4 separate regions of the Homo sapiens genome follow, and regions 2, 3 and 4 are each linked to region 1. Evidence: promoter capture Hi-C in human tissues and cell types (Jung and others, 2019). All regions are on one chromosome and are shown on one strand. The core of a region is centred on a gene start or on the middle of the fragment in contact, and the rest is flanking DNA. Distances in the headings are between cores, read along the strand shown.

Region 1 (5,130 bases), core at 1,390-3,889:
CTGGGAGCTCGGGACTCCACTCTGACAGAGGAGAGAGGCCATTTCTTTTACTGTCTCCTGTCTCTGAAGAGAAGGATGAAGTAAAAGTTGAAAAACAACAGGAATGAAGTCAGCAGCAAGACCAGCCGGTGCCACCGATGACCAGGCCTGAGGTTAAAAGATTACCCCCCCTCCCACTCTAACCACATGTGATCTCAATCTATCACGACCCTTTCACGTGGACCCCTTAGAGGTGTAAGCCCTTAAAAGGGCCAGGAACTCTGTTTTCGGGGAGCTCGGTTCTTGAGACGCGAGTCTGCCGAAGCTCCCGGCCGAATAAAGCCAAATCCTTCCTTAACCTGGTGTCTGAGGGGTTTTGTCCGCAGCTCGTCCTGCTACATGACCTGCCTGTCTATCCTCTTACCCACGGCAACCTGCCTTGATTCCTGCAGCTTTAAAATAACCCTATCAGGGTTACAGTATTTTAATTTCTGCTTCACATAGTGTAAATCAAAAATAAAACTCTAAGCTTCCCCAACCCACTGAATGGATCCCTCATCTCCACCAGGGGGATTCTGAAGAACCTGAAAAATGAGCTCAGGCCAGGAAGGGACGGGGATTGGACATGGCTCATTATACCCACCTCCCTTTGGAGTTCAGGTGCAGCTGACCAGACTGACAGCAGACTCCATAGCAGCAAGACACCAAGTTCCAATCTGACGCTGGTATAGCATCACGTGACAACAGGCCCTCAAAGTATCAATGTATTTTACCCCAAAATATATCTCTTTGACAAATTTTGAAATGGCCCCGCAAAGCGGTGTCTTGTGGGGAAATTCATATTCTGTAGACTCCCCTTCCCTTTCCAGCTCTTTTTCTGATCCTGAGGAGACTGGCTGAGAGTCTAGTGCCTTTTGAAGGTCTGAATAGGAAACATTTGCCATGTATTGCCTCTGAGGGCGGACACCTATGAGATTTCATCCACATAATAAGGACCTCGGTCTCCACAGCCCCTTCTCTTAACCCAGACACTCCTTTCTATTGATTCCAAGCCTTCAGATAGTAACTTCTTTCAACCAACTGCCAATCAGAAACATCTTTGAATCCACCTATTACCTGGAGGCCTTTCCACTTGGAGTCGTCCTGACTTTCTGGATCAATCCAATGCACACCTCACATGTACTGACTGATGTCTTATGTCTCCCTGAAATGAATAAAACCAAGCAGTAAAACAACCGCCTTGGGCCAAGTTCTCAGGACGTCCTGAGGCTGTGTCATGGGTCATATTTGGCTCAGAATAAATCTCTTCAAGTATTTTACAAAGTTTGGCTTTTTTTGTAAACAATAGGCAGATATAAATTCCATTTGCTAATTTTTTTAAATGCTGTGTCTTGGTTCATGAAAGACATTGGTCTGTGGTTCTACTGTCTGGTGATGTCTGACTTTGCTATCAAGGCAATGCTGGCCCATACATCGAGCAGGGAAGTGCCCCTCCTCGTCCATCGTCTGAGTGGCTGGATTCCTATTATTTCTTCTCTAAGTAGGATTCACCAGCTTGGCCCTCTGGGCCTGGAATTTTCTGTGTGAGAAAATTTGATAACAAATTGATCTCAAATTTAACAGATAATAAGCATTAGTATTTTCTTTTTTGGTAACTGGCATCCTTCAAGAAATTCGTCCAATTATACCGTTTTGGGGGCTGCCTGCACTAGAGTCAGCGTGGCGTCCCCTCAGAAGGCCGGGTTTGCCAGCGCCGCGCCCCAAGCCAGGTCGGTCGGCCAGTGCTGGTGCCCTCGGGGAACAGCGGGAGCTGCCTGGAGGCTGCGGGGAGCGGCGGCGGCGGGCACGCACCTGGCTCCCGAAACCAGACCTTTAATAACGCCTCGCAGAAGGGGCGGGGTGGGAGGTTGGCAGCGCAGGGGCGGCAGCCCCGGATCCCCCCAGGTCTCCAGATCACCCCATCGAGCCCCGCGCCCTAGCAGCACAGTCCCTCCAGGGCTCCTTGGAGGGCCAGGCCTCAGCCCGGGTGCCCCCTCGCCGGGGCTCCAGGGTTGGGGGCACCCAGGAGGCCGCAGGTGTGGAGCTCGACGGCGCCCCCCGACTAGAAACCCAGGCTCTCATGCGCGGCTCCCGCCCCGACCCCAGCTCCAGAGGGGCGAGAGCACCCGGCGCCGACCCCGTCTACGGACCCCCTCCTCCGCCCCGCCCCCGCCGTCCAGCCCTCCCGCCCCTACCAGCCCCGGGCCTCCTCCCCACGGACCCGCCCCGCGCCACCAGCCGTCAGCCCTCCCGGCCCCCAGTCTCGCGTACCCTCCCCACTGGCCTGCAGGGTCCACCGACTTCCCGACCCCGGGACCTCCCGACCCCCGGACCTCCCGGCCTCGCGGACCCTCAGGAGCCCCTGCGTGGGCTGCGCCAGGGCGCCCGCGACAGCACCGCCGCGAACCACAGCCACGGCCTCCGGGTCTGCAATGGAACCTCTAGCCGCTGCGGTCAGGAGGGCGGAGACTCTGCGCACGCGCAGTTCCCCCTCCCGCCCCTGCTTGCCGGTGATGGCGCATAACGCATGCGCGGGGAGGGCGGAGCTGGGCGTTGCCGTGGCTACTGGGAACGCATTTCACGGGGGCGGGGCGTGGTTCCGGGGCGGGGCGCGGCCGCCGGAAGTGCGTGGCCGCCCGGGGCCATGGCGACACTCAGCTTCGTCTTCCTGCTGCTGGGGGCAGTGTCCTGGCCTCCGGCTTCTGCCTCCGGCCAGGAGTTCTGGCCCGGACAATCGGCGGCCGATATTCTGTCGGGGGCGGCTTCCCGCAGACGGTAAACGCGCGTCCACGGTGCCAACGCTGGGGTTCCAGGACCGGGCAGGGTCAGAGGATGGGATGGGGGCGGGGCGGGGTCAGGGGCCAGGGAGATGGGATGGGGTCAGGGGCAGGCCCACGGGATGGAGGGTGGTCCGGGGCCAGGGAGATGGAATGGAGCGGAGTTATGGGGCAGGGGCCAGGGGGATGGGATGGAGCGGGGTCAGGGGGCAGGGGTCAGGGGAATGGGATGGGGTCAGGGTTCTGGGGCAAGGAATGTGGCGGAGTAAGGGGCCAGGGTGATGGTATAGGGGCAGGGGGCAGGGGCCAGGAGGGATGGGATGGGGGCGGGGCAGGGATCAGGGCGATGGGATGGGATGGGGGCGGGGCAGGGGCCAGGGTGATGGGATGGGATGGGGGCGGGGCAGGGGCTAGGGCCAGGAGGGGTGGGATGGGATGGGGGCAGGAACGGGGGCCCGAGGGATGGGATGGGGGCGGGGCGGGAGCCGGGGCCAAGAAGGATGGGACGGGGACGGGACAGGGGCAGGGGCAGGGGCAGGGGCCGGGGCCGGGCTGGAGTCTGGGGGATGGGATGGGGCGGGGGCTGGGGGCAGGGTCGGGCCAGCGGGTTGGCTGTAGTCGAGGCTGCGTCACTGCGGCCCGGGTCTGCAGGCGGGGTCGTCTGCGAGGCCCGGGGCGCAGCCTCGGGAGCCCAGGAAGGGGGCCGGGTTGCTCAGGCTGAGCGTGGGCTGGCTCCGGAGGCCCCTGCAAGTGACACGGGTCCAGGCCTGGGTGTGCGGAGCCGGGAGTCAGTGCCGGGCGGGCGCTCCGCAGTGAATTCTCAGGGCCAAGACGAGCTTCGCGGCCGCCCTGTGGCTGTGGGATCTCCAAGCGGACCCCGGGAGGGGCCTGGACGCAGAGGTGTGCACGGCCCCTCGTGGCGTTCGCAGGCCTGGGCGCTGCACGCAGCTTCACTCGCGACGATGGGAGTATGGAAAACCAGCGCAGAGCAGGGAAAGGAGAGCGCCAGGGACAGGGTTTCTGTAGCCCTTGGGGACTTGTCTGTGCCTTGGGGACTTGTCTGTGCCTTGGGGCGCTTTGTGTCCTTCCTCTAGGGCAGTGATCTTAAAGTGTGTCCTGGATCTCTGAGCTTTTGTAGCCGTTTTAATAGTAGTACCAGAGTATTATACGCCTTTTTCACTTCTCATGAATGCACTGTGGAGTTTTCCTAGAAACCACTTGATCTGTGATGTCACAACAGATTGAATGCAGAAACGGGTATGGGAATCCAGCTGTCACCAAACCCAAAAGAGATTTGCAAAAATTAAGAACATCATCACAGTTCTTCTAATTCATTTTTTAAAATACACTTATTTTTTATTTAAATATGTGGTTTTTGTTAACATGTAATGGCTTCTTATTTTTAGCTGAATTAAATACTTGTAGCTTTAACGTCTAACATAGGACGTATCAATAGACATAGTGCACATAACCAGCCGTCAGTCATTGTTTCCAGTGTAAAGGGGTCTTTAAACCAAACAGTTTGAGAACCATGTGGGTACTGATTCTTGGGTTCCAGTCACTGGGATTCCTCTGCCTTAGTGTTGAACTATTGCTAATTGTTAAAACGATGTTAGCATGTCTGCTGCTTCTGCTTACAGGCTCCGTAAGTAACTGGTCATAGAGAAACAGGCCACTCACTGCCTTCACAAACTAGGAACCATTGTTAAGTGCCTAGAGTCGGGCCACGCGCTGAGACTTGTGAGCAGTCGGGTTTTCCGTGCAGAAACCTCAGCATTTGAGACCTGTGGTCCTCCTTCTCCCTGCTCAGGTATCTTCTGTATGACGTCAACCCCCCGGAAGGCTTCAACCTGCGCAGGGATGTCTATATCCGAATCGCCTCTCTCCTGAAGACTCTGCTGAAGACGGAGGAGTGGGTGCTTGTCCTGCCTCCATGGGGCCGCCTCTATCACTGGCAGAGTCCTGACATCCACCAGGTCCGGATTCCCTGGTCTGAGTTTTTTGATCTTCCAAGTCTCAATAAAAACATCCCCGTCATCGAGTATGAGCAGTTCATCGCAGGTGAGGCCGAGCGGCACGCTGGGAGGCCGTGGTTGCTTAACTGGGGCCAGGCAGTCATTTCTAAGGTAGACATCAGGTTGGGCTTACGATTGCATCCAGCCTCACCAGCATCCTCCAGTGCCCAGTGCTGCTGCCTGAGGCCTGTGGCAGCACCTCCTCCGTTCAGGAGCACAGTCCCTTTCCCACGCTGCAGTGAGCTTCCCAAAATGTTTCTCGGAAATGGACCTGAAGTGGATGAGCTTTGTGCCCCCTCAGTTAGAGCCGCCCTTACACC
Region 2 (5,130 bases), core at 1,154-3,653, 240 kb before region 1:
CCAGGGCCCACCCTGCCCGCTGCCACTCACCTCCAGGGCCCGTCCTAACCTGCTGCCACTCACCTCCAGGGCCTGCCCTGCCTGGCTGCCTCTCACCTCCTGGGCCCACCCTGCCCGCTGCCACTCACCTCCAGGGCCTGCCCGGGCATACCCAGCTGCTATTCACCTCCAGGGCCTGCCCCGCCTCCAGGCCCCCCTCCCCCCCAATTGCCACTCACCTCCAGGGCCCTCCCGGGCATACCCAGCTGCTACTCACCTCCAGGGCCCGCTCTGCCCAGCTGCCACTCAACTCCAGGGCCTGCCCTGCCTGGCTGCTGCTCATTCACCGACTCTGTGGTTTCACTGCTCTTCTAATTTATCAAACATTTAACCGTGAAAGACTTTCATTCTAGACTTTTCTGTCTGTGCCCAGAGGTTCTCTTGATGATGATTTTCTGAATGTTTTGAGACGCCCGTGACCTGGTCTGTCCCAGAGCTCATGGGAGCCCTTCCAGGTATCTTCTCGAGTTTGTGTTTTGTGACACCCATTGTATAGGTTCAGCATCCCTAATCAAAACAGCCAGAATTCAGCTGGGCGCAGTGGCTCACACCTGTGATCCCAGCACTTTGGGAGGCTGAGGTGGGTGGATCACCTGAGGCCAGGAGCTCGAGACCAGCCTGGCCAACATGGTGAAACTCTGTCTCTACTAAAAATACAAAAATTAGCTGGGCATGATGGCGCGTGCCTGTAATCCCAGCTACTCGAAAGGCTGAGACAGGAGAATTGCTTGAACCCAGGAGGCAGAGGTTGCAGTGAGCTGAGATTGTGCCATTGCACGCCTGGGCAACAGAGCGAGACTCCATCTAAAAAAAAATAACAAAAAATCCAGAATTTGAAATACTCCAAAATCTGACAGTTTTTGAGCACCGGAAAGACAACCCGGTGGAAAATCCTGTACCTGACCTTGTTTGACGAGTCTCAGAACACGGTCAAAAGTTTCTTCATGCACAAAATTACTCCAGAACTCAGGGTGAGGCCCTGGGCAGTAGCAGGCAACCCCTTTGGCTTGCAAATGTTTGTCAGGTATTATATAAAATCACCTTCTGGCTGTGTGTGTACAGTGCATATGAGCATAAATGCATTTCGTGTTTAGACTTGGGTTCCATCCTCAAGACATCTCATTATGGACATGTGAATATTCCCAAATCCAAAACTACTGGCCCCAGGCATTTTGGATAAGGGACCCTCACTCTGTACTGAGCCAGGGGGACACGGCAGCTCCCAGAATGGCCCCTCGAGGGTGGCCTGGGTGCTGGCTCCTGCCTGGCAGGGGCGGGCATGTGTGGGAGAGATGGGGGCCTGGTGGGGGGCTTGTGCGTGCCCTGGGACCCCGTGGCTGCCGGGCGGGTCATGGGCTGGTGGGAGCCGGGCTGCAGGCTTTTCCCTGTGGCTGCTGCTTATTCTCCCAGCAGCGCCTGATCTGCCCGCTCTTCCCGTTCAGCTTTCAGATTGCATCTTCTCTGTCTAAAGAGCTCTGTGCCCTGGTCTTCGGGGTCAACACGTTCTTTGCCACCATCGTCAAGACCATCATCACTTTCATTGTCTCGGACGTGCGGGGCCTGGGCCTCCCGGTCCGCAAGCAGGTGAGCCCATTTCAGGCCTGCGTCCTCGGGGATGGAAGCTACTTGTGGGGACATTGTTGAGGCCTCCTGGTGCCCGCCTGATGTGGAGCCCACTGTGGGCTGGGGGCACAGGGTGCGGGCCTGGGGCTTCCAGTGGGACACACCAGGCCAGCGAGAGCAGGAAGTGAGAGAGACCCTAGCGGGGCTCAGTTGTTGTGGGCGGGAGCCTCCGTCAGGCCCTGGGCCTCAGTGGGAGCAGCTGAGCCTCTGCTCGCCACGGCGGAGCTGTCCTTGTCTCCGCTCTCTGCCTGTGGCTGCCGGAACTTGGTGTCCTTGAGCCCTGGCTGGAGGCCACGTGACCTTTGTCCTCTTCAGGAAGGAGAGCTGAGCAGAGCCACTCAGCAGTGTCAGTGCGCAGGCCTCTGCGGGTGCCCTCCCCTTTCCCACCTCTCGCGGGCCTCTGCTGCTTCTGAGAAGAGCTGGAAAACACACATTTAACTCCTGAGGGTCCCAGCCAAGGCCGGGTCTCCGAGTGAGCTGGAATCAGCCATGGTGGGCGTGGTGTGAGAGGTCCTTCCAGGCTCCTCAGGACTGCCCCAGCCTGCAGCTAGACAGATGCCCTTGGCGGGTGGGACAAGGGCTTTGTCCACCTGGGGCCCAGGTCTCACTGGGCAGGAGGACTGTCAGGGTTAGTCCTGATCCTCTGAGGGTGCGGAGTCTGTTCAGCTTCAGTGACTCCAGAGCTCAGGGTAAGGCCCGGGCAATAGCAGGCATCCCCTTCGGCTCACAAATGCCTGTTAGGTGAGGATGGCTGTTGCTCACTCATCGAAATGCATTCTTCAGCCCAAGAGTGTCATTAGGGCCTGTCCACGCTGGCAGGCCACGTGGCCCTGTGCCACAGAGCCCTCTGGGTACAACACCCCCGACCCAGGTGTGAACACTCAGGGCGGGTGAGTCTCCAAGGCCCAGGGGTGAACGCTTAGGGTGGGTGAGCCTCCGAGGCCCAGGTGTGAACACTCAGGGCAGGTGAGCCTCCAAGGCCCAGGCGTGAACACTCAGGGTGATGAGCCTCCAAGGCCCAGGGGTGAACGCTTAGGGCAGGTGAGTCTCCGAGGCCCAGGGGTGAACACTCAGGGCGGGTGAGCCTCCGAAGCCCAGGGGTGAACGTTCAGGGCAGGTGAGTCTCCGAGGCCCGGGGGTGAACGCTCAGGACAGGTGAGCCTCCAAGGCCCAGGGGTGAACGCTCAGGGTGGGTGAGCCTCTGAGGCCCAGGTGTGAACACTCAGGGCGGGTGAGCCTCCGAGGCCCAGGTGTGAACACTCAGGGCAGGTGAGCCTCCAAGGCCCAGGCGTGAACACTCAGGGTGATGAGCCTCCAAGGCCCAGGGGTGAACGCTTAGGGCAGGTGAGTCTCCGAGGCCCAGGGGTGAACACTCAGGGCGGGTGAGCCTCCGAAGCCCAGGGGTGAACGTTCAGGGCAGGTGAGTCTCCGAGGCCCGGGGGTGAACGCTCAGGACAGGTGAGCCTCCAAGGCCCAGGGGTGAACGCTCAGGGTGGGTGAGCCTCTGAGGCCCAGGTGTGAACACTCAGGGCGGGTGAGCCTCCGAGGCCCAGGTGTGAACACTCAGGGCAGGTGAGCCTCCAAGGCCCAGGCGTGAACACTCAGGGTGATGAGCCTCCAAGGCCCAGGGGTGAACGCTTAGGGCAGGTGAGTCTCCGAGGCCCAGGGGTGAACGCTCAGGGCGGGTGAGCCTCCGAAGCCCAGGGGTGAACGCTCAGGACAGGTGAGTCTCCAAGGCCCACGGGTGAATGTGTCCAGGCCCGGCCTGGGTGGACACAGCCTCCTGGTGGCCGGGCTGGTCTCAGGTCTGCAGAAAGGGGGCCCAGAAGGCTTCTGTTGAATGCATGGCCCCAGGGCGGGGTGCTGGCAGCAGTCCAGCTGGCTTTGGAGGGGCTCCAGCACCCGGGAGGAGGTCCTCCCCATTCTTGGAGCCCCGAGTTACCTCTGTCCCCAGACAGCAGTGGCTGCCAGCATGTATGGGCAGGGAGTGCCCGTCCCAGGGAGACCCTCAGGGCCCTGTGTGGCCCCAGCCAGGCTGGAACTGGCTTCTGACCTGCCTCTGGGTGCTGACTGCCCCTGACTACCGTTGCCGCCCCACCTCCATCCCTCTGTGACTGCCTCTTGTTCAGCCCTTGGCAGCTGGAGGGGCAGATGCCTGAGGGCTCTTTAGGGACTCTGTGCGTGTGCTCCCCTGTAGCTGCCCTGTGGAGGGGACCCCTCACGGTGGGCTTCTAAGGGCCCATGGGGGCTTGGTGCAGGGGGTGGAGCAGTTCTTCCCCAGAGAGCTGGTCACGAGGAAGCCCTTTCCCTTCCTTAGCTGGTCCTGGTCCTGGTGTGGCCGTGGAGGCTGTGGGGGAGACAGCTCTGGGGAGGTGGAGGCAGGTTCTGGCCTGTGGTTCCTGGCTGCCTCTTGTCACATAGAAAAAAAACACATGGACTTTTCTCTGGCTGGTTTGATTTCTAGGTTAAAAAGTTAACTAGTGGGGCATTTTGCTCATGGCTGGACATCCTGTTGGGTCTAGAGGAGGTGGTGCGGGCTCATCTTGCCCCCGTGCCTGTTACTGGGTGCCGAGTGTCCACTCTCTTTCCTCCAGCATGGGGAGAACAGCTGGGCCAGGAGTTCAGGCTTGGTCGGGGGTAGAGTCTGGAGACGGGAGGGAGCCGTGATGGAGCATGGGGGGACAGACAGGGCTAGAGCTTGCCTGGGTTTGCCTGCTTTTTAAATTAAGCTTTATATTTGGGTAATCTTATATTCACATGCTGTTTAATAAATAATACAGGGAGATCCATGTACCCCGTACCCAGTTTTCACAGTGGTCACGTCTTACAGTTCTGTAGCACATCACAACCAGCATGGCGACAGTCAGGATCCAGAACATTCTATCCCCACAGGGATCCCTCATGCTGCTCTTTATAGCCAAGGCCCACCCTACTCCCAGCCTCACGTCCTCTTTAACCCCTGGCAGCCACTACCCTCTTCTCCGCTTGTATGAGTTTGTCATTTCAGGAGTGTTGTATAAACACGGCTATGCATTGTGTATCGTTTAGGGATTGGCTCTTTTCACTCAACACTGTTCTCTGAACATTCATCCATGTTGTTACTGTGGCTGTGGCTGATTCCTTCTTGCTGCTGAGTGCTGTTCCAGGGTGTAGGTACAGCACACTTTATTTATTCACCGTTGAAAGACTTGTTTCCAGTGTGAGGTATTACCAATAAAGCTGCTATGGACATTCTTTTATAGGTTTTTGTGTGAATATAGGTTTTCCTTTCCCTGGGACAGACGCCCAGAAGTGCAAGTGCTGGGTCACCAGGTAGTTGCTTGTTTCTTTCCAGGAAAGAAGCAGGGAAGCAGCCCACTTTCCATAGCAGTCGTACCGTTTTATATCACCACCAGCAGACTTTGAGAGATCCAGTCACAGCGTCTTTGGTATGCCGTGTTGCCACTAGTTTTTATTTTGGCCGTTGTG
Region 3 (5,130 bases), core at 1-2,500, 220 kb after region 1:
AAAAATAGATTTAAAAAAAAGTACATGATCCTTAAGGAGAAACTCATTTTTAAAAATTATTAAAAGAGCAAGCGAATATAGAGACACACCAAACACCTCAAATTCTTTGTGGGATGAGTATAAATATATAAAGCAAACAAAATTAGCAGCTTCACCAACTTCTTTTGAATGATACTAGATTTTTAAAATAAATCAGATGCAAAAACAGTATGGCTCCTGGTAACATACTACTCTAAAATAATGGACTAGAGCCAGGAAAAGGAGATTTTTTTTTCTATTTTGCCGAGTTATGTCTTAATTATTATGTTAGCAGTCTTTCCTGAGAAGCTAAAAGGTAATTAGCAACTGAAGCCAGGCAAGAGTGGGGAGGAGGGAGGGCGCGGGCAGGCCGCGCTCTGCTGAATCTCCAGGAGCTGTTCTGGAGGGGATGGAGGCTGGAGGCTGAGCCTAAGTACAGTTGGGTTAGTGACAAATTAGATGGCTCATGTGGTTATTTAAAGCCTTCTCTCTAGGAAACTTTCAACTACCATATATTCAAGATCTTGCAGTTGATAGTTTTAAACTGGAATCTCAGGGACTCGGGCTGACTGTCACCTATACAAGCTACTCAGGGATACAGCAGCCATGAACGGTGGTGTGAAAAGTGGCCATCATCATGTATTTTCAAACTTTTTTGAGATATAATACATACACCAAAAAGTATCCATATCATAAATGTACATCTCAACACATTAGCCCAAAGTGGACACAGCTGTGAAACCTCCACCAGGGCGAGCAGCGGAACGTGACCAACTCGGAGTGTCCGGCGTGCCCCTCCATAGCCACAGCTGCCTCTGGGCCTTAAAGATAAGCTCTACCCTGACTCCTACCTCCGCAGATTGGTTATGCCTGTTTTTGCTTCACATAAGTGACATCACACAGAATGTATTCTTTCGTGTCTTGATTCTTCCACTTGACGCTGTGTTCATGAGATCCATCAACCTGTGCCTCTGTGAACCTTCTCTTACACCTCTCAGCGCACGTGTGTATGTTTCTGTTGGGTTGTGTACCAGGTCACAGGAGACACATAGGTCCACTCCAGAGGGGACACTGATTTTCCAACGTGTTGAGCCATTTTATACTCCTACCAGCAGGCGAGGAGCTTTCTGGCTGCTTCTTGTCCACATCAACAGCTGGTGTTGACACTTTGTCCACCCTGGAGGGTGGTGGTAGTTCCTCACAGTGGCTTTAATCTGTAGTTCACTAATGACCAGTGAGGTTGAGCATCTTTACATGTTCTTGTTTTCCACATGCACATCCTTTCTGGTGAAGAAGCCACAAGTTTTCTTTATTATTTATTTGTAGAAGTTATTTATATATTCTAGACCCAAACTCTTGGCAAGCTATATGTGTTGCAAATACCTTCTCTCACCCTGTGTCTTGCATTTCCATAATCACAGTGGAGTCTTTTGTTATACAGGAGTTCTTAATTTCAATGTGATCCAATTTATCTACCGTTTTTTTCTACGGTTAGGGTTTTTTTGTTTCCTGTTTAGAAAACTCAACTACTCCATGGTCATGAAGGAATGCTTCTGTTATCTTCTGGAAGGTTTATTGTTTCAATTTTCAAATTTAGAGGACAATTCACCAGGAATTGTTTTTCTGTACAATGTGAGGTAGGGGTTCAGAGTCAGTCCATAACTGTTGTCTGTGTTTGGTGCCCAGTTGACCTAGCACCATTTACTGACATGATTTCCCTTCTCCCTGCTGCTCTGCTGCAGTAGCTTTGTTGTGAATTCAGCATCCATATAGGCATGGGTTGTTGCTTTTTTCTGAACTATTTTGTTAGGTGCTGAGGACTGGCCTTGAACTGCTGTTTCCTGTCCTAATTACTGAAGCTTTCTCATGAGTCTTCTTTTGACACCGTAGAATCACCTTGCAGTTTTTCTGTTTTTCAAAATTTTCTTGGTTATACTTGGTATTTTGCATTTCCATTTAAATCTTTGAATTGGCTTATAAATTTCCTCAAAATATTCTGCTAGAATTTTTATTAGAATTTCATTGAAGCTATAGATCAATTTGGCGAGAACGGATATTCTCACAATATTGAGTGCTCCAGTTCACGTTTAGCCCTACATTGATTTAAATATTCTCCAGTTGCTCTCATTATCTTCTAGTCTTCTGTGTAGATATTACATACATAGTCCATTAGATTTATTCGCAGACATTTGGTGCATTGGATGATCATTTAAAATGTTCCCTATTTTTATTTTCTGACCACTGGTTTCTGGTTTATTTAGAATGCAGTTGATCTTTGTGTATTGACCTTGTACCAGCAGTCTTTCCAGATTCACTTAATAATTTCAATAGTTATCTGTAGATTCTATTGGGTTTCTTATATACGTATCATTTTGTTTGTGAATAATGACTTTTTCATTTTTTCCTTTCTGATCATTTTATCCTTTATTGCTTTCTTCTTGGCTTACCTCACCAGCTGCTGCTGAAAAGAAGTGTTAGTGGTGAGCATCCTTATTTTTTTCCTGACCTCAGGGGGGACGCTTTCAATATTTCACTAATAAGTGTGAGATCTGTGGTAGGATTTTTAAATATAGATGCCCCCGATGAGATCAAGGAAGCTCACTTCTATCTCCACTTTGCTAAGAGTTTCTTTTCCTGAATGCATGCTGAGTTTTATCACATTCTTTCTTCTGCATTTATTGAGATGATAGTATGATTTTTCTGCTTCATTACATTAATATGATGAATTAAGTTGATTAAAGTTTAAATGTTATACCAACCTTGCATTTCTGGAAAAAGCCCAACTTGGAAAAAGCCCGGGAGATACCCCAGGATCCTTCTAGCAAATCCCCCTCTCTGCTTGCCCACCCCCTTGCTTCAAGGACAAGGAGTGGAAGAAACAAGGAAAATGGTGAAGAAGCCCAGACCTCAGGGCTCCACCTGGCCCTGCTGAGGCCTAAGGCATGGGGGGGGGGGTACTTTTGTGGCTTGACTTGGGGGTAGTGGGGGTCTCCTGTGGCCTGGGTGGTTGGGAGTCTGTGGCCTGGGTACGGGGCATTGCTGACTGCTGTGACCTGGCCCCCCTCCCCAACTGCGTCCTGGCCATGGGGGGCTGCTGTGGCCTGGCCCTGCCTAGCAGATGAGAGGCTTCGGGCCTCATTTTCTATTGAGTGCATGGAAGCAGCTCTGGTTGATGTAAGACCAGGTCACTTACTGGACATTGGTCCCTTCCTTGGGCTTCAGTCTCATCAGAGAAGTTATCTGTAAAGTCATGAGTCAACAAAATATGCCTCAAGCAAACCGTGTAAAAAGAAAGTATAAACTAAGCATTAAATATTCCATCAGCCACAGAAATGTGAGGCACTGTTCCCGCCTGCACTGAGGTTCAGAGGCTCGCCCCTCCCCAGCACCCTCCACCGTGCGGTGCAGTGCTCAGTGTTTGCCAGCAGCCTAGGGTCTTCGAGGAGAAAAGTCTCTGCCGTCCTGTGCGGGCCACCGTGGAGATTGGTGATGGAGCTATTCATCAGTTCTTCGGCCAGTCTCTTTTCAGGGGCAAGGGTCTCCCGCCGGTCATCAACGCCTCAGGGGACGGAGGGGAGGGAGAGCACATCTGGAGGGGTGCAACCCCAGATGGCCCCACGAGAACCAGGAGGGACCCTGGTGGCCGCAGGAGTTCAGGCCCAGGAACAGGTCCCAGGCTCCCTCTTGTCCTGGCTCCTTCCCGGACCTCCTGGGAACACAGCACACATTCCAGAGAGATGAGAGCAGTCATAGTCTATGCGGGTTTGCTTGAATGGCATACAAGTATAAGCCCACCTATTTTTGTTTTCTAGAATTCCACTTCTATTTTTGGTGGAATATGAAAGTTTGACTATTTCCCAAAGTGGAAAAACACATGTTTTTCCTTGACTGTCTGGTAATGTCTTTGTTGCTCATTAAATAAGTGCATGCAGTCTCCATGGGCGCTTGGTGAACCCCCTTCCCGATCCCCTGAGCATGAGCTGGTTGTGTGCACCATACCCAGAGCCTTTCTCAAGCCCTCCTGCGTTTTATTTATTAAAGCTTCAGCACTTCACACATATCGCAGTGGGTAGATCTGAATAAGGGCATCAGATATGCCCACCACTCTGCAGCTAAGGACTCCAGGGAAGCCTCTCCATGAGGATTCCAGTGCTTAGGCCCCAGGCCCCGCCCCTCATGTATCTGTAAAACACAACAGAAGGAGGGGGAGGGAGAGGAAGAAGAAGGGTGGGAGGGTAGGAGGAAGGGGAGGGGCACTTCCACCCCTTCCACTGCCTGAAGGATGTGTGCGGTGGACACTGGGGTGACTATGGAAGGGGCGCGCTCACCTGAGCTCACTCCCACCAGCATATTAGCCTCCGTTACAACAACTAATTCTTTCGGTATTTTGTGACGGGGTTTCACTCCGTTGCCCAGGCTGGAGTGCAGTGGCACAACCATGGCTCACTGGGGACTCCACCTCCCCACTCAAGCAATCCTCCCACCCCAGCCTCTGCAGTAGCTTGAGACCACAGGTGTGCAACACCACACCCAGCTAATTTTTTCATTTTTACTTTTTGTAGAGACAGGGTCTCCCTATGTTGCCCAGGCTGGTGTCAAACTCCTGGGTTTAAGTGATCTTCCCACCTTGGCCTCCCAAGGTATTGGGATTACAGGTGTGAGCCACTGCACCAGGGCTTAGTGGGTCTATTTCTTGACTCTTTATTCTGTTCCATTGATCTATTTGTTTTGCTTCCCACAGACACCACATTGTCTTGCATCCTATAGCTTAAGGAAAAGAAGCTGGTGTCATTCCTGTAGGCTGTGTGCAGGATTGTTTGCCCCCTTCCAAGTTCTTTGCCTTTCCATTAAACTTTTAGGATCAGCTGGTCAATTTCTACAACAAAGCCTGCTGGAATTTCTATTAGAATAATATTGATATTTCAGGAAGTATGGACAGCTTCCTAGTACTGAATCCTCCAATCCATGATCATGGTATACCTCTCTGTCTTGGTCCATTCTGGTAGCTATAACAAAGCATCTTTGACTGGATGGCTTATAAACAACAGAAATCTATTTCTTGCAGTTCTGGAGGTTGGAAAGTCCAAGGTCAAGGTGTCTGGTGAAGGCTCA
Region 4 (5,130 bases), core at 1,124-3,623, 200 kb after region 1:
CTGGAGCGTCTGACATTTCTCCATGACTAGACTGTGATTGTGCATTTGTGGCAGGAGTCCCTGACAGAGCACATGCCATGTGGTGTGGGGCGGCATATGATGCAACTTGTCTCATCAGATGATGCTGATCTTGATCGCCCAGGTGACGTGGTGTCTGCTGGCTTCCTCCATTCTAAAGTTACTATTTTTCCCTTTTTAATAAATAAATAACTTGAGGAAGAGATACTTCGAGACTAGGCAAATATCCTGTTTCTCTCCAAACTCTGGCCCACTAATCAGCATCCTCCCGCGGAACTCACCTGAAGTAACTATTTCCATAGTGCCGCCTGAAGGCGATTTTCTATTTTCTCACTGCTCCTACACCAATTAATTGGAATGTTTCTGTCAGGAAGAGATGTCCCTTCTCCTTATTTTTTCAATTTCTTCTTATATCAATATAAGAAGTATCAGTAGTGATACTGACTTTGTTTTATAGATTATACACCTATACTATCATTACTCATTTCCTTGCTCAAATTGACCCGCTTTGGCCATGGGGCTCCTCCAGGTTGCTTATGTGCCCTCTGACACACCCCATCCATTTTGGCCACTTCCTTATTTCCAGCATCATCAGAGGTTCCAGACTCATCTTCTGCAAGGAGCCCTGCTTATTTTTATCAGCAACTGATATTTAGGTGTGCTCCCTGTTGCTGGAGGTCATTGCTTCTAGGTCTTCCCAACGGACAAGGCTAGGAGATGCATATGTAGGTGTATCACTAACCCATGCATGTAACGCGTACACCTATGTTTACTCCTGTGCTGTACATGCATCTATTAAAGACCACAGAGTCACACTGACACCTATCCCAATCCAACAGCACGGCCTCCCTCTGCCATCTTCCTTTTGCTATTTGTAACTTCTTCCTGGGACAGTGAGAAACCTGGCTCTCATTATCCACTACGATTCTGCTTATTTGTTCAATCCCCACATACACATAAAGTCGTTTCACATTGCTCACCATTAACACTGAGAAAAAAATTTACTACTATTTTGTACAGTTCTCTTCAGCCTCACAGAATCCAGTCAACATTATCATTTTCCCAAATAAGGTTAACACTTTCCTTTCCACCCCCTTTGCTGTGGCCCTGCCGCTTTGTACTACAGTGAGATGTGTGTTTTCCGCTTATATTTCATTTTGGGTCCCCCACATCCTGGCTGATATTAACCATCTATTTTACTTTGGAGTATATGAAGTATTGCTGTGGTTTCAAGAGCTGGGCCACACTAAAAGGTGTACTGAGAGCAGCACTGCACCCCACCTATGACCTGGCACCCACTCCACTTCCCTGCCCCCTCGCCCTCTGCACCCCACCTATGACCTGGCACCCACTCCTCCTCCGTCCCCTGGCCCTCTGCAGTCACCATCTCTTTTGTTTCTGGCTCTGCCCTCCTGTATCTCCTCTGCACAAGTGTGCAGGGAGCGTGTGTCTTCCTGCATCCCCTTCTTCTCACATCAAGGGCAGCATTTAGATGTTCTTTGGTACTTGCCTCATTCACATCCACGTGCCCTGGAAACCACCTCAAACCAATTCACAGAGGTCATCCTCAACAGTGGATGTGGTTGTGTGGCTGTACTAGAGTTTACTCAACCCTCTCCTGCATATGGATATTTAGGTTATTCCGAATGTATTTTCACATTGTTGGAGGTCTATCTTCTGGAAGGATTCCTAGAAGCAGAATTGCTGGGTCAAAGGGTAAGTGTTTCTGTGGTGTTGTAGGCTGAATGTGGTTTTAATATGCCCAACCGTACTTCACCGACTTCCTCTTCTGATAAGTGGGGGGAAAACATCAAACACCCGGTAAGAACTCATCTGCTGAGGACCTAATAGTGTGCACAACACAGGTGGTCAGCTTAAGAAATGCTAATAGCTTCTGCTCGACATTATAACCATATTTCATCCTATAGTAGGCTCATACAATTCAAGAAGCACAATGCACATCACAGAGACAGACTTCAAGAGCAAGCCAAATAAATGGCCCTTGCTAGCATTATCAGTATCAAACAAAGGCTTCTGTCTTAAACTCCATTTCGAAGCTCCTACGAACTCCTAGGAATCTACCTATGACAAATGAAAATACACATCCACACGCAGACATGCTTGCTAATGTTCAAAGTCACGTGATTCATAATAGCCAGAATGCAGAAACAACCCAAAGTCCATCGCTGGAGTGGAATAAACGAACACGCTACGCCAATACGACTAAAAGGAACAAATTACTGATATGTTCTACAACACACGGATGAACCCGAAAAACATGTTAAGTGAAAGCCTGATGCAAACGATGACACAGGACATGAGCTGCTTCCCATGAAATATCTGCAAGGCACATGTGGAAACAGCAGGCAGGCTGCCTGAGCGGTTGCCTGAGGCTGGGCTGGGTGCGCGAATCAACTGCAGACAAGCACAGGGAACATTTGAGGTGACAGGAGTGTTCAAGAACTAGACAGTGGTGATGTCTGCACAACTCAGACATTCAGAAAATCACTGAATTGTCCTCTTAGAGAGGGTGCATTTCATGGCAGCTGTTTAAAACAAAACAAAACCGCCTCAAAATGCCTTTCCTATGGTTTATTTTCTCCCCGTATTTTCCCAGAGCATTCTAAAAAGGTGAAGACTCAAAGCATTATTTGATCATAACTTGCAATTTGCATTGTTTCCTTCAACAATCAATAAGCCCAGGAAATCATCTAGACAAATTCTCAATGCAGTGTGAAAAGGCACACAGGGCAGGTCTTCTGTCCAACAGCACCGCCCTATCCCGGCTTCACACATAGCAAGCAGTGTCTGGCAAATCAAAGCCTGCCTTTTCCATTCTACACCGTAGCTCAAAATCATTGTCCAGGAAAGGAAAAAACCTTCCTTTTCCTACAGCAAGGGCTTCCAGCAATAAACAGAACTAAAATCTATCAGGCACTTCTTGCCTGTGCCACACATAACACGTGCCTATGGCTGATTCGTGCATGGAGAATTCAAGGTGAGCTGCACGGGAGGCTCTATGTCAGTTCTGCGTGAGAGGCACATGCTCAATGACGTCCTTTAGGTTCATGTGACACCAGCCTTTTCTGTGTCAACAGAATCAATTCCTCACAGTTTCATTAGAGGGATAAAATTAAAGAATTGAAAGCTTCACTATGTAACAAGATAAATATGTCACTCATTCACCTGCATGTGGGTGAAAACATCTACTACGTGACAACAAAAAGTGCAGAGGGAAAAAATTCCAGAGTAGAAGTTAGAAGATGTCACTTTTAACCCTGCTCTGCTCCTGGGTACATACATACATAGTATGTAAAGGACTCAAATTCAAAATGACCAAGACTAATAAATATGCATTTGATGTGACTACTTTCATTCATATCGAGAATGGAGTAGACGTAAAGAGTCCAATCATTGCTGTTTAACTGCAGCCACGGCGCTGAAGTTTCTGGAAACTGTAACCTCTGTTTAAATCGACTTCACACTATTTATGCTTAGGTCTAAACCAAGTGAAATGTGTAGATTAACACTAAGTAGTAAGTGTTTTCCACCATTCTTCATGTAGAGGTCAGAGGTCACGTCTGTAGCTCCCCAGCATCTTTTGAATCTCCTCTCTCTACCTGGGGATATCCCTAAGACAAAAGCCAGAATTCTATTTCCTGTTCTCACAGCCAGGGTGCACTCGGCCAGTCAGATGAACCAACACGAAACCTCACCTCAAATGATAGAAATTTGAGGGAGCAGGTCCCTAGTGGAAACTATTCCTGAAAAGGGAAAACAATGACACAAGAGAGGGCTTGGGGATGCAGCAGCTGGCAGAGGGCCCACCAGCGGCATCCGGCAGCCCAGGCTCACTGCACATGATCCCAGGGTAACCAGGTACTGTGTCTGACTCCAGAAGCCCGGGCTCACTGCACATGGTCCCAGGGTAACCCAGTATTGTGTCTGACTCCAGAGCCTCACGAAGACTACGAGAAGCCACTTTACATTCTTGAAAAGATTCCTTTTTTCAAGGAAATCAACTCACTCTAAGTGACTTAACACTGGGTGGGTTGGACACCTTGTGCCCAACTGTTACTAATCAAAGAAAAAGAAACAAAACTGGGCTTATGTGCACTGCCATAAGTAAACACACAGGAATAAAATGCAACTTTCCAACTTACTCTCCAGCCTGACTGATATATATGTTAAAGACCTCCACTTCTAACTTTGTAATTTTAGAAGTGAGGGTTAATGAAATATTAACTACTACTGAATTACCTCTGGTGGCTTATGATAAACTCTGGACTTACAGAAGTGAAAAACAACCCCTGCTCAATTTAATTCAAGACAACTAACACAGTCTAGTCCCCCTAAGACTGAGGAAACAGAGAAAGGGATCAATTCTAATCCCCTGGAGTTTCACGTTTTCTCTTGGACTCTGAATCCATCATTCCACCTCTCTCAATCCTGCCTCCTAAGCCCGCTTAACCCCTAAGGCCTAGGCCCTCCCTTCCTATACCTCACCTCTTTCCACAGTTACTGAGTCAAAAGAAGGGACAGGACTCTCTGCCAAGTGCCAGCCTCGCGTGAGCCTCGGCAGCCATGGCAGGAAGTGACGTAGCACCACCTACCATTAGACAGGACTACACATAGGTTCTATGATGAGTATTTATTGGACAACTGAATGAATGATTATTTGACTCTGACTTACAATAGTCTTCCAGAAATGGAGAGAACCTCGGCAACAAGCAATTCAACTGCCCTCATTCTACATCCAAGGAGCCTGCAGCAGAGGCATGAAGAGAATGCACCATCCTGTTCAGAAGCAGGGCTGGGATTACAATCCTGATCTCCCAAATTCTGGGACACTTTCCTGTTTGCTCCTTCACCAAAAACAGCTTATAAGAGATGCTTTTTTGGCCAGGTGCAATGGCTCCGCCTGTAATCCCAGCATTTTGGGAGGCCGAGGCAATTGGATCCCTTGAGTCCAGGAGCTCGAGACCAGCCTGGGCAACACGGTAAAACCCCGTCTCTACAAAAAATACAAAAATTAGCCGGGTGTGGTGGCATCCACCTGTAGCCCCAGCTACCTGGGAGGCTGAGACTGAGGCGGGAGGATCGCTTGAACCC

The links. The method cuts DNA at HindIII sites, captures the fragments that hold promoters and counts their contacts. A contact is called where the count stands out against the background at its distance.
Region 2: a fragment that was not itself captured here is called in contact with the fragment with the promoter of POFUT2 in region 1 in 3 of the 25 tissues and cell types used here (H1 embryonic stem cells, dorsolateral prefrontal cortex and mesendoderm cells).
Region 3: a contact is called between a fragment that was not itself captured here and the fragment with the promoter of POFUT2 in region 1, in 3 of the 25 tissues and cell types used here (dorsolateral prefrontal cortex, liver and spleen).
Region 4: a fragment that was not itself captured here is called in contact with the fragment with the promoter of POFUT2 in region 1 in 2 of the 25 tissues and cell types used here (dorsolateral prefrontal cortex and mesendoderm cells).

What each region holds. Positions count from the first base shown.
Region 1 is chr21:45,285,404-45,290,533 of GRCh38, reverse strand. POFUT2 (protein O-fucosyltransferase 2) reads left to right here and starts at 2,639. Exons shown (of 9, transcript NM_133635.6): 1 at 2,639-2,793; 2 at 4,606-4,856. The coding sequence starts at 2,663. LINC00205 (long intergenic non-protein coding RNA 205) reads right to left here and starts at 2,482. Exons shown (of 3, transcript NR_026943.1): 1 at 2,290-2,482; 2 at 1,096-1,183; 3 at 1-63. RefSeq lists an enhancer at 1,298-2,028 and a silencer at 2,183-2,712. The HindIII fragment of the contact is 23,447 bases long and covers 1-5,130 here.
Region 2 is chr21:45,522,310-45,527,439 of GRCh38, reverse strand. SLC19A1 (solute carrier family 19 member 1) reads left to right here. Exons shown (of 6, transcript NM_194255.4): 5 at 1,482-1,623. Among named protein-coding and RNA genes, the nearest start is that of SLC19A1, 18 kb to the left of the region's middle. RefSeq lists an enhancer at 1-225. The HindIII fragment of the contact is 5,401 bases long and covers 1-5,103 here.
Region 3 is chr21:45,063,371-45,068,500 of GRCh38, reverse strand. The region is part of intron 2 of LOC105372836 (a long non-coding RNA gene); the gene reads left to right. Among named protein-coding and RNA genes, the nearest start is that of ADARB1, 8.6 kb to the left of the region's middle. RefSeq lists an enhancer at 2,900-3,733. The HindIII fragment of the contact is 3,437 bases long and covers 1-2,968 here.
Region 4 is chr21:45,083,788-45,088,917 of GRCh38, reverse strand. All of the region lies in intron 1 of ADARB1 (adenosine deaminase RNA specific B1), which reads right to left. Among named protein-coding and RNA genes, the nearest start is that of ADARB1, 12 kb to the right of the region's middle. The HindIII fragment of the contact is 5,819 bases long and covers 1-5,130 here.